Regions from separate parts of the Homo sapiens genome. Here all the other regions are linked to region 4. Evidence: promoter capture Hi-C in 16 types of primary human blood cells and fetal thymus (Javierre and others, 2016). All regions are on one chromosome and are shown on one strand. The core of a region is centred on a gene start or on the middle of the fragment in contact, and the rest is flanking DNA. Distances in the headings are between cores, read along the strand shown.

Region 1 (3,443 bases), core at 652-3,151, 450 kb after region 4:
TCTCTTATTTCCCTTTGTCACCCTTGCTTTCTTTTTGTTATTCATCTTTCATCATCTTTTCTAGTTTTGTCTCTTTTCGGCCTGCTGCAAGGGAATATTTCCGGAACAGATATATAGTATCTGTTGGAAAAACCCATAAGATAATTACCCAGCCTCTCTTAATTGAAAGAGAAACGGGGCCGGGTGCGGTGGCTCATGCCTATAATCTCAGCACTTTGGGAGGCCGAGGCGGGCAGATCACGAGGTCAGGAGATTGAGACCATCCTGGCTAACATGGTGAAACCTCGTCTCTACTAAAAAAAATACAAAAAATTAGCTGGGCGTGGTGGCGGGCGCCTGTAGTCCCAGCTGCTCGGAAGGCTGAGGCAGGAGAATGGCGTGAACCCGGGAAGCGGAGCTTGCAGTGAGCCGAGATCGTGCCACTGCACTCCAGCCTGGGCAACAGAGCAAGACTCCGTCTCAAAAAAAAGAGAAACTGAGGCCCAATAAATAAGCAGTTTGCCTAGAGTCATGCAATTTCCCTGAGAAAGCTGGAATTAGAACTCTGCGTTCCTGATTCTCTGGTCCAAAGCTCTTTCCACTGTGAGTTCTCCTGCAATTTGTTTTCTGATTCTGCTTAGGATTTGGTGTTTGTTATTCATATGTCCTTTGTATTATCATATTAGTGTAACTCTCTTAAGACCTTATTTCCAAGGTAAAAAACAGTGGTTTCCTTGGTGCTTTGGAATACCATCCATGCTTCTAAGGTTGGAGAGGATGCCATTTATAATAAGCTTCCCTTCTTTTTTTTTTGAGACGGAATTTCGCTCTTGTTGCTCAGGCTGGAGTGCAAAATGGCACGATCTTGGCTCACTGGAACCTCCGCCTCCTAGGTTCAAGCAATTCTCTTGCCTCAGCCTCCCGAGTAGCTGGGATTACAGGCGTGAGCACCACGCCCAGCTAATTTTTGTATTTTTAGTAGAGACAGGGTTTCACCATGTTGGCCAGGCTGGTCTCGAACTTCTCATCTCAGGTGATTCACCTGCCTCGGCCTCCCAAAGTGCTGGGATTACAGGCGTGAGCCACCATGTCCGGCCAAGCTTCCCTTCTTAAAGCCCTCTGTTACTCACTCCACTCATCCCTTAAGGGAAAGTCTTAGCATACATGTTATAAGTGTAAGCAGCTAGGTAGTAGGTACTAGGGATTCCATGATTAAAGAGAGATAGCCCCTGAGCCCAGGAGCTCACTTTCAATCTAGAATAGAAGACAGACAGTTTCAACGCTGTTTGGTTAGTGTTACTATAGAAGATTTTCAAGATGTTTTGGGAGCACAAAGGAAGAGTAAGTTGAGCCTTAGGAGGATGTGAGTGATCAGGAAGTGCTTCCTAACGGATGAAATGTGGGAGCTGAGTTTTAAGGGATGTTGGTAACCAGCCAAGATAAGAAGGAAAGGAAGGATATTAAAGGAAGAGGGTCCTATATGTGCAGAGTCATAAGGCTATGAGACACCATGGTGTTACCAGGTGGTGGGGGTCCCTAAGTAATTTGCTGTTGTTGGATAGCATAAAGCGTGAGATGGATGAGAGAGGTTGGCAGACCGTGATCACAGAAGGCCCTGGAAGCCTATCTGAGGAGCTTGGTCTTCACCCTAGAGGTAAAGGGGAGACACGGAAGGATTAAAAACAGCTCTGCATTTTAGATAGACAAATCCATTATAGCAGTAATATGAAGGATTTGAAAGGTACAAGATTGGAAGTAGAACAGATACAAGGCTTTTGCAGTAGCTCAGGCTGAAAGTAATGAGTGTCTGAACTACGACTTGCAGGCAGTGGTAGTAAGGATGGTTAGTAAGAGAATAGGAAGTGGGGATGTGGTCAGGGGTGAGCTGGTGGGACCTGTTTGCTGATTTGGGGAAGAGGAAGGAGGAGTCATTGGATTTGGCAACAAGGAATGTCAGTGATGACCTGAAAGGGCTAGTTCCGTTGTGTAGTGAAACAATGGCCAGGTTCTAATGTATTAAGGAGTGAATGAAAAGTGAGGAAACAAATAGTGAATACAGGCTTTTTAAGAAGTTTAGATAAGAAGACCAAGAGAATGCATGGTAATTAAAGGGATTTGAGGTCCACTCACTACCTCCTTGAAATTCACCCCTGTATTGTTTTCCATGACACCCTACTCCTGGTTCTTTTCTCTGATCATTCTTGGCCACCTTTGCAAACTCCTCTTCCTCTGTGCACCTCTTAAGTCTTTCCCAGGGCTCCATCCATAATTTTTAGCTGTTCTCACTCTATGTGCTCCCTCTGGCTGATTCTTACCTAGTCATGTTTTCAACTATGACCTATATGTACATGATTTCCAAATCAGTATTTGCATCTTGGTCTGGTGTATTTAGCTGTTTGTTGGATTTCTCTATTGATTTAGACTTGAGAGATTTCAAATGCATTGTATTCAAAGCTGAACTCATCAGCTTCTACTGTAAGCCTGCTCCTACTCTTGTGCTCTCTAACTTGCCTCCTCCTTCTTTGTCCTTGTGTACCTAATCAATTAGTGCTGCTAATTAGTCTTACTAATTTTGCCTCCTGTGTCTTCTCTCTTCCGTCCCTCTTTATCATTGCCTTCATCATCTGTTGCCTGGACCATTGCAGTGATTTTCCTGCCCCAGATCCCCTCCAGAGTGATCTCTTTGAAATGCAGTTTAAGTTCTTGCTTTAAACCCATCGTTTCTGGATGAAATCTAAGCTTTTTACCATGGCCTACGCAGCTCATTATGCATTGGCCTCTGCGCCTTTCCAACTTTGACTCATGGCTGTTCCCTTTGTCATACTTCAGGTTCCAGCCATACCAGTTTGCCTTTGGTTTGCTGCACATACCAGGCCACTTCTTATTTCCGTGCCTTTGTTCTTGTTGCTCATTCTGTTCTGAAATGACCTCCAGACCCTTTCTGGCCCTTCCATCCCCAGTGCTGTAGTTAACACAGAGCCTTTACTGATCATTCTTGCCCAACCCTCATGTCACCTTTTTATCATACCTCCCCCAAGCTGATTAAGATACCCATTCTGTTTCCATGACACCCCATGCGTATTTCTACCAGAGTTTATGCTGTTCTTTTAATTTATTTGTTTAAATGTCTCTCTCTTCCACTAGTCTGGGAGTTCATCAGGACAGGTGCTGTGTCATACTCATTTTCATGTAGTGTCTACCATGGTACCTAGTATATAATGAAAATTCAATAAATGTTTGTGTAATGAATGGATAAAATATAAGATGTGGACATCAGCTGAGAGAGAACCAGGCTTTTAGAGTGGCAAACGTTTGAAATAGCTGTCAGAGTGGGGGAAGGGTGTGAACAAGGACTAAGAAAAGGATGAATGATATATTTTGTCCCTTTGATTCTATTGCATATGCCTTAAATATTTTCTTTTCTTTTTTGTTTCTTTCTTTCTTTTTTTTTTTTTTTTTTTTTG
Region 2 (3,591 bases), core at 759-3,258, 340 kb after region 4:
ATTCCCTCATTATCATGAGAACAGCATGGAGGAAACTGCCCCGTGATCCAGTCGCCTCCCACCAGGTCCCTCCCTTGACACATGGGGACTACACTTCAAGATGTGGGTACACACAGAGCCAAACCATATTACTTCTCAAATGTCAACTGAGGATAATTATGGTACAGTATGTAGATATACGTAAAACACTTGGAACAGTCTCTGGCACAAAATAGTTCTCAATAAAGGTTTACTATTATTAATATTTTTAACAAAACCTCCAGCCCTACCAAATAAAAAGCAGCTACCAGAACCTTCCTTATAGACATGCCTCCGTTTGGCTGTCTACTATACACGTGGGCCCCTCTCTTGTGGGTGTACAGATGGGAGTGAAGATAAGTATAATGTGACTGTGAGTCTTCAGAGGTCAGCCGTCTTAGGATCTCTTGAGTAACACTCCACGAGCTACGTCCCTAGTCAGTCTCCCTAGGATCCTTGAGAAGAGTCTGAATTGGCCTCTAGGCTCTTCCTACTTAAAGTGGGGTCCCCCAGCCACCAATATTGGGAGAAAAAGTAAGATCTCAGGTCGTATTCCAGACCTGTTAGAGTCTGTTTTTTTTTTTTTTGAGATGGAGTCTCCCCCTGTCACCCAGGCTGGAGTGCAGTGGTATGATCTCGGCTCACTGCAACCTCCACCTCCGGGTTCAAATGATTCTCCTGCCTCAGCCTCCCAAGTAGCTGGGATTACAGGCGCCCGCCACCACACCCAGCTAATTTTTGTATTTTTAGTAGAGACAGGGTTTCGCCATGGTGGCCAGGCTGGTCTCGAACTCCTGACCTCATGATCCGCCCACCTCGGCCTCCCAAGTGCTGGGATTACAGGTGTGAGCCACCACGCCCGGCCTAGAGTCTGCATTTTTAACCAGATGCCAGGCCATTTGTGTGCATGTGAAAGTTCAAGAAGCACTGCCTAGATCCGAGTTACCCCATGTAATCCATGGACCAGCTTTTAAGGGAACTTGTTGGAAACACAAATTCTTAGGGGCCCATCCTGACCTACTGAATCAGAGTTTGAAACAGAATTATATAGATAGGACCCAGGAATCTTCTGTTTAACAAGTTCTCCAGACTTGTCCTATGCTCAGTGCAGTTTGAGAAGCACTGTTCTAGCTGGTATGTCGTCTGAGTATTCTCATTAGCTCTCATTACTTCTGGCTGGCTGGTGGCCTGGGCACTTGGTCACTCTGAGGTTCCTTTCTCTCCAGGGGCTGCATCTTCTTCCCAGTTTCAAGGCTTACCTTCCCGCAGTGCAATCTTTCAGCAGCAACCTGAGAACTGTTCCTCTCCTCCCAACGTGGCACTAACCTGCTTGGGTATGCAGCAGCCTGCTCAGTCACAGCAGGTCACCATCCAAGTCCAAGAGCCTGTTGACATGCTCAGCAACATGCCAGGCACAGCTGCAGGCTCCAGTGGGCGCGGCATCTCCATCAGCCCCAGTGCTGGTCAGATGCAGATGCAGCACCGTACCAACCTGATGGCCACCCTCAGCTATGGGCACCGTCCCTTGTCCAAGCAGCTGAGTGCTGACAGTGCAGAGGCTCACAGGTAAGACCGCCTAACGTCACCCAGCCATCTATGCATGGGATCCAGGTGGGAGGAAGCCCCTTAGCAGAGTGAGAGAAAAGGAGGGAAGGAGAATGGGTCTGACTAGGCTGTGCTCTTGTTTCACGCTTTCTAAAATCAGGATGCTGGGTTTGGAATGAACTTGTCAGCTTTTTATTGACCCAGGGTTAAAATTCTAATGAGACTGAGGTGGAAAATGGGAAAGCTACCTTATTATTTGCTACCTTATTATTTGCTTGCAAAGAAGAAAATGGCCTGTTAGAGGAATGTATAAAAATTCCAGTTCCCCTTTTCTTGAAGGGAGCATCTTGAAGTTGCTTCCTTCAAAATGAGCTAGATCTATTACCCACGCAGTGCCCTCAGTCCCTTGGAGGTTACTGGACAAGCCAGTAATGGAATAAATAGGGACAATGCATACATCTGCCACTTCTCTGTCACACCACAGTTCTCTGTACCAGTGGGTTCTCCCTACTGAGGAGGAGGAGCTGTTCCCAGGAAGTCTAGTACTTGTTACATGGATGTCTGGTACTCCCTTTTGTGTCTGCAGCTTGAACGTGAATCGGTTCTCCCCTGCTAACTACGACCAGGCGCATTTACACCCCCATCTGTTTTCGGACCAGTCCCGGGGTTCCCCCAGCAGCTACAGCCCTTCAACAGGAGTGGGGTTCTCTCCAACCCAAGCCCTGAAAGTCCCTCCACTTGACCAATTCCCCACCTTCCCTCCCAGTGCACATCAGCAGCCGCCACACTATACCACGTCGGCACTACAGCAGGCCCTGCTGTCTCCCACGCCGCCAGACTATACAAGACACCAGCAGGTACCCCACATCCTTCAAGGACTGCTTTCTCCCCGGCATTCGCTCACCGGCCACTCGGACATCCGGCTGCCCCCAACAGAGTTTGCACAGCTCATTAAAAGGCAGCAGCAACAACGGCAGCAGCAGCAGCAACAGCAGCAACAGCAAGAATACCAGGAACTGTTCAGGCACATGAACCAAGGGGATGCGGGGAGTCTGGCTCCCAGCCTTGGGGGACAGAGCATGACAGAGCGCCAGGCTTTATCTTATCAAAATGCTGACTCTTATCACCATCACACCAGCCCCCAGCATCTGCTACAAATCAGGGCACAAGAATGTGTCTCACAGGCTTCCTCACCCACCCCGCCCCACGGGTATGCTCACCAGCCGGCACTGATGCATTCAGAGAGCATGGAGGAGGACTGCTCGTGTGAGGGGGCCAAGGATGGCTTCCAAGACAGTAAGAGTTCAAGTACATTGACCAAAGGTTGCCATGACAGCCCTCTGCTCTTGAGTACCGGTGGACCTGGGGACCCTGAATCTTTGCTAGGAACTGTGAGTCATGCCCAAGAATTGGGGATACATCCCTATGGTCATCAGCCAACTGCTGCATTCAGTAAAAATAAGGTGCCCAGCAGAGGTAAGTGTCTCCTCACAGTGGAAGTCCTGGGCCAGTCTGCCCTAATCAACTGACTCAGTAATGTTATCTTTTTTCAGCTAGTATTCTGTGTTCCTAAGAAAAAAAGAATTTCTGAGCTTCACGACCTTCTTGGGGAGAAGCATGTAGGAAGTGGGTATTGGTGGGCAAGGGGTCCATTTTCAAAATCAAAGGACCATGATACAAAATTAACACTTAGTCAATAAGATAGATGATCCATTTCCCTTATTCATACCACAGTTTCTTGGAATCCAGAAATTCCTGACTGCCATCCAAACAGCTAACTTTAAACTTGTGCAATAGAAAAAAAGTCAGCCCAACATAATTTAGTGTAAATAGTGTGGGAACAAGAGTCAGAGCACCTTAATTCTGCTCTTGCAGCTATCATAAATACGATAACTTTGTCATTTAATCCCTCTGATTCTGATTTTCCTCATCTGTGAAGAAGGTGTTGGAGGAACAATGGAGTATCTTACGGTGTATCTGTGGAGATGAAAACATGTATATATGTGTTTGTTTCTACATAATGTTTGC
Region 3 (3,188 bases), core at 415-2,914, 470 kb after region 4:
TCAGATGCATGCTTAATTAGCACATGAACTCTCCTGTCAGATATTCCTGGAGGGGCTCTGCCAGCCAACCTAGGCCCAGCCACAGGAGCCTGCTGCTTTCTTGGAAACAGGGTGGGGAAGCATGATGATCCCAGTATTGACAAGGATCCCCTGAGAACAGGAAGGTCCACTGCTTTGTCGTGTGGGAAGCAGATTCAGGATGAAGCCCTGTCTACAAGATGTGTCCAGTCTCCTCCGCCTCGAGGCCCTTGGTTCATCGACCTCTTCCCTACAGCCTTTGGACTTTGCACCACTCTTTGAGGCCTCTGTGCTTTTTTCCAAGCTCCTGCTTCTGCGCTGGTCTTCCTCTCCCTAGCAAATCCTTATTCACCCTTAAGGGTCCAGCTCAAATGTCACTTCCTTTGTGGAGTTCCCCCTGGCCCCCGTGCTACCCGCAGAGTGGCAGAATCAAATGCTTCCTCTTCAGACTTGCTCCTATTGTACTTGTACCTACCTGACTCTAATGTGAGTCTCTTCAAATTACAGTGTTTTTGACGTGTTTTTCTCCCCCGGCCAGACTTAGGGCTTATTCAAGGCAGAGACCACAGTCTTCAGCATCCGGCACAAAGCCCGGCCTGTACAAGACACTCAGTACATTTAATTTGTTGAATTAAACTGAATGCTAGGTTGAGGTTCCACTGCAGGTAAGAACTGGGCAAGTGTAAACTTCCAGAACTCAGCAGCTATTTATTAGTGATATGCAGATGTAGGTAGGGCATCTTTGAAATCTTCCCAAGGATTCTGTGATCCTTATTTTTCCTTTTCACAATAATCCTCTCCTACTTGGGAAAAAGGGGGATAAAATCGCACTTTGGCCCCAGCCTGGGGAGAATCTTGGCATTAGGCTGGGGGGCCATGGTGGGAGGAAGCATGGGACTGGGGCCTAAAGGCCATCAACCAGACTGCAAGCTGCCTGAGTGCAGGATGTGACTTCCCCTCCCTCCCACACATATGGCCATTGCTTCACCTGGAGTGACTTGGGACTGGGGAATCAGGGGTGGGCAGCAGTGCAGGAAAACCCATCCGCACCAGCCTGGGGCTCCCTCTTCTCACTACCTCATGAGGCCCTGTGGAGTGTGGACTGTTGCTGCTGTCCTGATCCCCCAAATGCCATAACTGCTGACTTCTGATGTAAATAGTGTACATTTGTTTTTTACTTTGCAGCTAATTTGCATTAACTTCTCTGAATGACAGACATATAGAAATTCCCTGATTTCTATGACCTCACTTCCACACCACAAAAAACCACAGTGGTCCCTATACCTCTGTACTCAGGGACTCCCAACCCAGGTGGGCAGATACCAGGGGGTTTCTGAGGAGCCCTGCATCAAGCAGGCACCAGCCCAGGAGGAAGCGATCCAGGAATCCCACTACCCCGGAGCCCACTGCTCTGGCGTCTCTTTCTTGTCTCTCGGGGTTGTGCGGGGTGAGGGCATGGGGGTTTGTGAAATGTCTTCGTGATTTTGTAATTCAGGCTAGGGAGTCATTCGGAGAAAAGCGAATGAAAAGTAGGGTAAAGGGGAAAGAGGGGCTTTGTGACTTAGGTGGGCTTTGCAGAAGGACAGGAAGCCACACCCCGAGCCTTACAAGGCAAGCTGGATGGGGCTGCCCGGCTGCAATGGGGATGGACCGATACAGACCGCTCAGTGTAGCCACCTGCTGGACACATGGAGTCATAGCGTTCTGCTTCCTTCATGCTTCCTACCCTCCAGCTGCGCCTGCTCTTCTTTCTTCCTTCTTTCTCCTCCTTCCGCCTAGTTCCGCCCCGGCCCGCATACCTGCTTTCCCTCTTCCCTCAGGTGTGACTACCCAGATGCATCTGTCTTGGCCCAGGGCTGGGGACTCTGAATTTCCTCCTTTGGTGATGACTGAAAGGGAGCAGCTATCCCTGGTTGAGGCCAGAGAGAAGGCTTTTCATCTCCATGTTCAGTCTCTCCACCTTCTCGCTTGGCTTGCTGGGATCCTGCGCTTGGCTGCGATTAGAGGCCACTGAATTTATTGTCCAAACTGGGATGCTTCTGAGAGTGAAGGGTGTGTGTGCTTGCTATTAGTAATTATGCAGAGACAACAGCTGTAGACCAGAATTGTCCCGGGCCAGCGGGGACTCATGGTAAGCATAGTTCCGAGGGTCCGCCGGCGTTTTCGGCCGTGCGTCAGGTGTGGAAGGCTAAGGCGGCCAGCAGAGGCTGCTGCGGCACTTGTTATGTGCCTCACTATCTAAAAAGCTCCTTTTGCCATGCTGGGACTGTGGTGGGTGAAGTTGGTTGTCGTACAGGGCTAAGGTCCCCTGAGTAGTGATTGTACCAGATTTGCTCACCTGGGCCTGGCGCACAATGGGATAAGAAAGCCGCCTGCTTCCTCTAGTCTGGGTGGGAGACACAGCCCAAAGTCCCAGGGCCTACCTTCTCAGAAACTCCCCATCATCCTGGATTGGACTGTGCCTTTCCTGAATTCTGACACTTCTTGTTCCTGCCCCTTCAGGCAAAGACTGGGCAAGCAGTTTCCTAGCACTGCCAGCTCTGAGGCTGGTGCCTTTCTGGGTGGATTATTGGCCTTCCTGGATACATTGGCAGGAGGACTCATGGGTCGGCCCCAGGATGCCCTGGCCAGAGGGGACCCAAGGAATGCCTGACAGTTTCTCTGCCTGACTTGCAGGGGGGAATTCAGACCAGCCTTGGAGTCCTGTGAAGGGGAAGGGCTCCTGGAATCTTCTAGCCCTCCTTCCTCTCACCCAGTTCTAACTCTGGCAGAAAGACCTCATTTCCTCTTCCCCATGTGGGAGACTTTCCCTCCCTTGACCCCTCTTGCAGTTGGGAGACCTTGATCCTTGTGGGAGGAAGGGGTTGCTGTACCAGGATGGGGTCCCTCCGCTCCCCTGGCCAGGGGAAGCATGACCTGCTGAGCTGGAGTCTGGCCCCGCAAGCTGTTGTGGCCTGACCTGTAGTTGCTTGCCCAGTACCAGCCCCTCTCTCCCATCTTCTCTCCCTGCTCACCTGAAGGGAGAGGCCAGTATCAGGCTTTCCAGGCTACGTGCTGGTGATCATACCATGGCAAAGGGCGGTGTCTCACACAGGCTGCGGGAGAGCTGCCCTGCTTAAGCAGAGAATTCTGGAGCAGCAGTGGGTATCCCAGGCAGCCACAGGGATTGC
Region 4 (3,540 bases), core at 135-2,634:
AAGGGTGACAGGTACACAACGCTGCAGCCCCCAGATCTAGAGACAAGATTAGGATTTCGGTCAGAGGGGGATGAAGCACACACCATCCCCACTCCCACCCAGCACCACCATCCTTCCCCTTCCTCCTCCTGGGTCAGGGTCGAAAAGTGGAGAATCCCCAGAAATCCTTTAGAGTCCTCTGATGAAGCCTCCCGAGTCCTGCCTTCGAGCCAGTGGGGAGGGGGAGAGGAGGATGATTACAGGGCGGCCCCCCCAGGGGCATCTCAAGACACTCCCAGGACAGCATGGACAGGCATGGACCCTCCTGCCCTGTGGCTCCTGCCAGGACCCCTCCCCTGAGCTGCCCAGTGGGTGAAAGTGGGCAGTGGAGAAAGAAAGTCCAGGGTCAAACGGGAAGGTGGCACCCCCTACCAGCAGAAGCCCAGAAACACGAGCAGAGCCAGGGGCCCCTGCAGGGCTGCTGTGCCCCTTCTCTCTTCCCAAATAGGAGTGAGCACACCTGGACCTCTGAGAGGGCAGGAGGGTGGCTCCTCTCCACTCCACGGACAAACAGGAGTGGCCTGGCTACATAAATGTGTGCCATCCTCACTGCTACCTTTGGAATAGCAACTTCGAAAGGGAACCACCCTTTGGGAAAGACCAAGGGTCCCAGGCCTGCCCCGCCTATCACTCCAAAGCTCCTCCTTGGCAGTACCCGCCCCCCACCCCTCTGCTACAGTGGGGGTGACCTCCCACTGTCAGACAGTGGAAGGGGCTGCTTGTCAGAAGGACAGGCCTTCCGTCTCCACTCTTTGCCCCTGACTGGAATACAAGAGTTCTGTGGCCCTTCACATTGTCACAGGGCTATCGCTGCTGCTCAGGCCCTGGGGACCCGCCAGAGTGGGACACCGTGCTCCAACACAGGTGCGTTCACACACTCCTCACCTCCTTGGAAGTTCTCCTGGAGGGGCAACAGACAGTAGAGCCTTGGCCTAACCGGCCGGCGCCTGCACCCTTACACACACCTTGTGGATGTGGCTGGCTGAGATGGGGAGCCTCCCTCTCACCCCGGTGGTTTCCATCAATTCCTCTGCACTAGCCAAGTCATCCGGGGCATTTCAATGAGCCCGGGGCTGCCCAGTCTGAGAGAGATCCAGGACGCTAGTGATCCAGCCCACCCTGCCTGGAGCTTGGGCCCCCATGCTGACTGAGAGGGTGGGTTTCCCTAGCCAGGGAGCTGGAGCTGGCGCCTGGGACCTCAGGAGAGCCTGCCTGAAATGCACCCACTGCTCCTGTCCAGCTCCAGCCCAACTTCCCTCCAAGCCCCAGCCAATGCACTCACAAGGCTTCCTCAGGGCTCGCAGGAAGGAGTGAAGACTTGTGTCTGGGTTCGGACAGACAGGATGGGGCGCTGGCTGGGTGAGGGGTTTAAAGGGCTGCCGCCGTGGTGATGTCAGCCTCCCCCACTGGCTCGCTCCTCGGCCCCCTCCCTGCTAGAGGAAGCCGGCTCCGCTCCCCACCCCCGGCTCCCCCAGTGACTCCACACAGGCTCCATATTTGGGGAAAGACACCAAGTTGGAGCAGTCTACCGGGGCTGCCGAGACATTCTCTGCATGCTTTGGAGATGGAGCGGGCCGGGGCGGGGCACGCTGCCGGCGGGGAGCCGGCCCGGGAAAAGCCTTTTATGGACAGGACCCTGCCCGGACTTACGGCTGCTCCTACTTCACTGTTCTCTGGCCCCGAGTTTGAGAAGAGGGGGAGTTCAATAGAGTCTGGCTGGAGAGAGGGGCAAGGGGCTGGGGAGCCGGGAATCCCAGGGGTTTGTGGGGACAAACCAGCCACCCTCTCCTCCTGGGGCTTTTAGCTCTGATGGGACATGGGATCCAACCTTTCCTGAGGACCTACTCCACACCAGGCCCTTTGCAGTGCTCTCATTGAATACTCACAGCTACAGTGTGAGGGTGTAATTACATCCCCATTTTATAGATGAGGAAACTGAGGCCCCGAGTGCGTCTTCCTCAAGGCCACATGGTGAATGGTAAGTGGCAGATCCTGCACACCTCTGCCAACCCGCATGGGTGCAGGAGAGGTGGTCAGACCCACCCTTTCAATTGGACCACCCTGCTCAGGTTGAGAAGAGCTTTCAGTGCAGGTAGGTCTTGAGTTATATGCTTTAGTTGGGGCTGGGATTTGAGGGTTCGGCAGAAGCTGAGTCCAACTCCGGTCCCCATCCAGTGGGCAGTGTCAATAAGAGGGTCTATAAGGCCTGGCAGGGCCTGAGACACTAACGCAGGAGAAGGAGGCTCAGGAGGCTGGTATCATCCCTTCCTCCCTTTAGGAACAGTCCCTACCAGCCTGGAAAACAGACCAGCCTCTGTCACTCCAGAGATAACCCACTCTCATCTTGCTCGTACCTGGCTTCAGGGATCTTGGGGAGAGATAAGAGGTTAAAAAAGGTGAGACTAACAGTGGGATCCCTGGACTGACTGCTGTGGCACTCCCCTGCAAGGGCATCTGGTAGGGAAGACCTAACACTCTCCACTACACACACACTGCCACACCCGGCACCACCCCTAGCCAAACAAGGCCCTAGGAGGGGGCTGCCAGGCCTGGCAGAGGAGGGGCCCGCCTCCGCAGTTCTGCCCACTGCAACTGGACATGCTCCAGAGCCCAGGGGAGGCACAGCCATAGCACCTCCCAGTGGCGCCTGCAGGAAAAGCAGGAAGAGGAGTGGGCCCTGGCGAGGGGAAAGCCCACTCCTCCATCCCTGACCCTGCAGACCTCTGGTTGTGTTCTGAATTCAACAGATTCCTTGGCCCCCAAATCATGTCCTCCTTAGCCGACTGAAGTCTAAATGAATCTTTCAGGGACATATCAAAACTCCCTCCTCTTGGAGCCTGCCCAGCTTTCATCACCCTCCTGCCTCGGCCTGCACGCTGAGCGGATTATAAACGCCGCATCAGGGAGCACTGCTTGGGCCTGTGGCTTGGTGAGCTGGGGGCCGCTCAGGTCAGAGGTGAAGTGAGCCTCAGTCTGGTGGGCGGGGCCAGGTGGGCAGAGACTGCTGTTCCTGGGGAGGTAAGGAGGGATGTCTGCAGTGGGATGGCGTGGGAAAGGCTTTTCCAGGAACTGGCCTCTGTCCAGCACAGTGCCCCGGTAAATGTTTACTGAATTAATGCTGTTGCTGGAGGGACAGGAAAAACGGGAGAATCAAGGAATTGCAGTTCCCAGTAGGGCCATGGCTTGAAGAATGGGGAAATGGAAGACCTCCGCCTCTCCCCTCATCCTCAACAGCTCCACCCAGAGGGAGTGCAAACAAGGGCCCCAAGAACTGAGTCTGGTTGTTTATTGAATGCAAATTCATTCATAGAAAACGGAAATGCAACCATAGCATGGAGACGCTCTGAGAAAAGATCCAGACCCACCTCATCTCCCAGCCCTTCAAGCAGAGCTATAAAAACAAGTTTGGGAGAAAAACACATTCCCATCCCCAAAGCAGAGGCCCCGCCTGAGCTCCCCCATCCTCAGCATCTGGGGTGGACCAGGTGGGACGAAGGGGAT

The links. The method cuts DNA at HindIII sites, captures the fragments that hold promoters and counts their contacts. A CHiCAGO score of 5 or more calls a contact.
Region 1: a fragment that was not itself captured here is called in contact with the fragment with the promoter of TAGLN in region 4 in 4 of 17 cell types (total CD8 T cells, neutrophils, fetal thymus and 1 more); the score reaches 6.2 in total CD8 T cells.
Region 2: a contact is called between a fragment that was not itself captured here and the fragment with the promoter of TAGLN in region 4, in 2 of 17 cell types (naive CD4 T cells and total CD8 T cells). The highest score is 5.5, in naive CD4 T cells.
Region 3: a fragment that was not itself captured here is called in contact with the fragment with the promoter of TAGLN in region 4 in 1 of 17 cell types (erythroblasts); the score reaches 5.5 in erythroblasts.

The regions. Positions count from the first base shown.
Region 1 is chr11:116,748,980-116,752,422 of GRCh38, reverse strand. All of the region lies in intron 9 of BUD13 (BUD13 spliceosome associated protein), which reads left to right. Among named protein-coding and RNA genes, the nearest start is that of BUD13, 22 kb to the left of the region's middle. The HindIII fragment of the contact is 1,639 bases long and covers 1,082-2,720 here.
Region 2 is chr11:116,857,258-116,860,848 of GRCh38, reverse strand. It overlaps SIK3 (SIK family kinase 3), which reads left to right. Exons shown (of 25, transcript NM_001366686.3): 20 at 1,245-1,584; 21 at 2,150-3,039. Among named protein-coding and RNA genes, the nearest start is that of APOA1, 21 kb to the right of the region's middle. The HindIII fragment of the contact is 5,146 bases long and covers 1-3,591 here.
Region 3 is chr11:116,731,408-116,734,595 of GRCh38, reverse strand. No RefSeq gene overlaps it. Among named protein-coding and RNA genes, the nearest start is that of BUD13, 40 kb to the left of the region's middle. RefSeq lists a silencer at 1,613-1,662. The HindIII fragment of the contact is 5,485 bases long and covers 1-3,188 here.
Region 4 is chr11:117,197,214-117,200,753 of GRCh38, reverse strand. TAGLN (transgelin) reads right to left here and starts at 1,384. Exons shown (of 5, transcript NM_003186.5): 1 at 1,322-1,384. LOC100652768 (a long non-coding RNA gene) reads left to right here. Exons shown (of 8, transcript NR_045215.1): 2 at 842-903; 3 at 1,966-2,017; 4 at 2,318-2,435; 5 at 2,847-2,968; 6 at 3,350-3,524. It overlaps SIDT2 (SID1 transmembrane family member 2), which reads right to left. Exons shown (of 26, transcript NM_001040455.2): 26 at 3,312-3,540. RefSeq lists a silencer at 2,467-2,761 and an enhancer at 2,164-2,827. The HindIII fragment of the contact is 9,715 bases long and covers 1-3,540 here.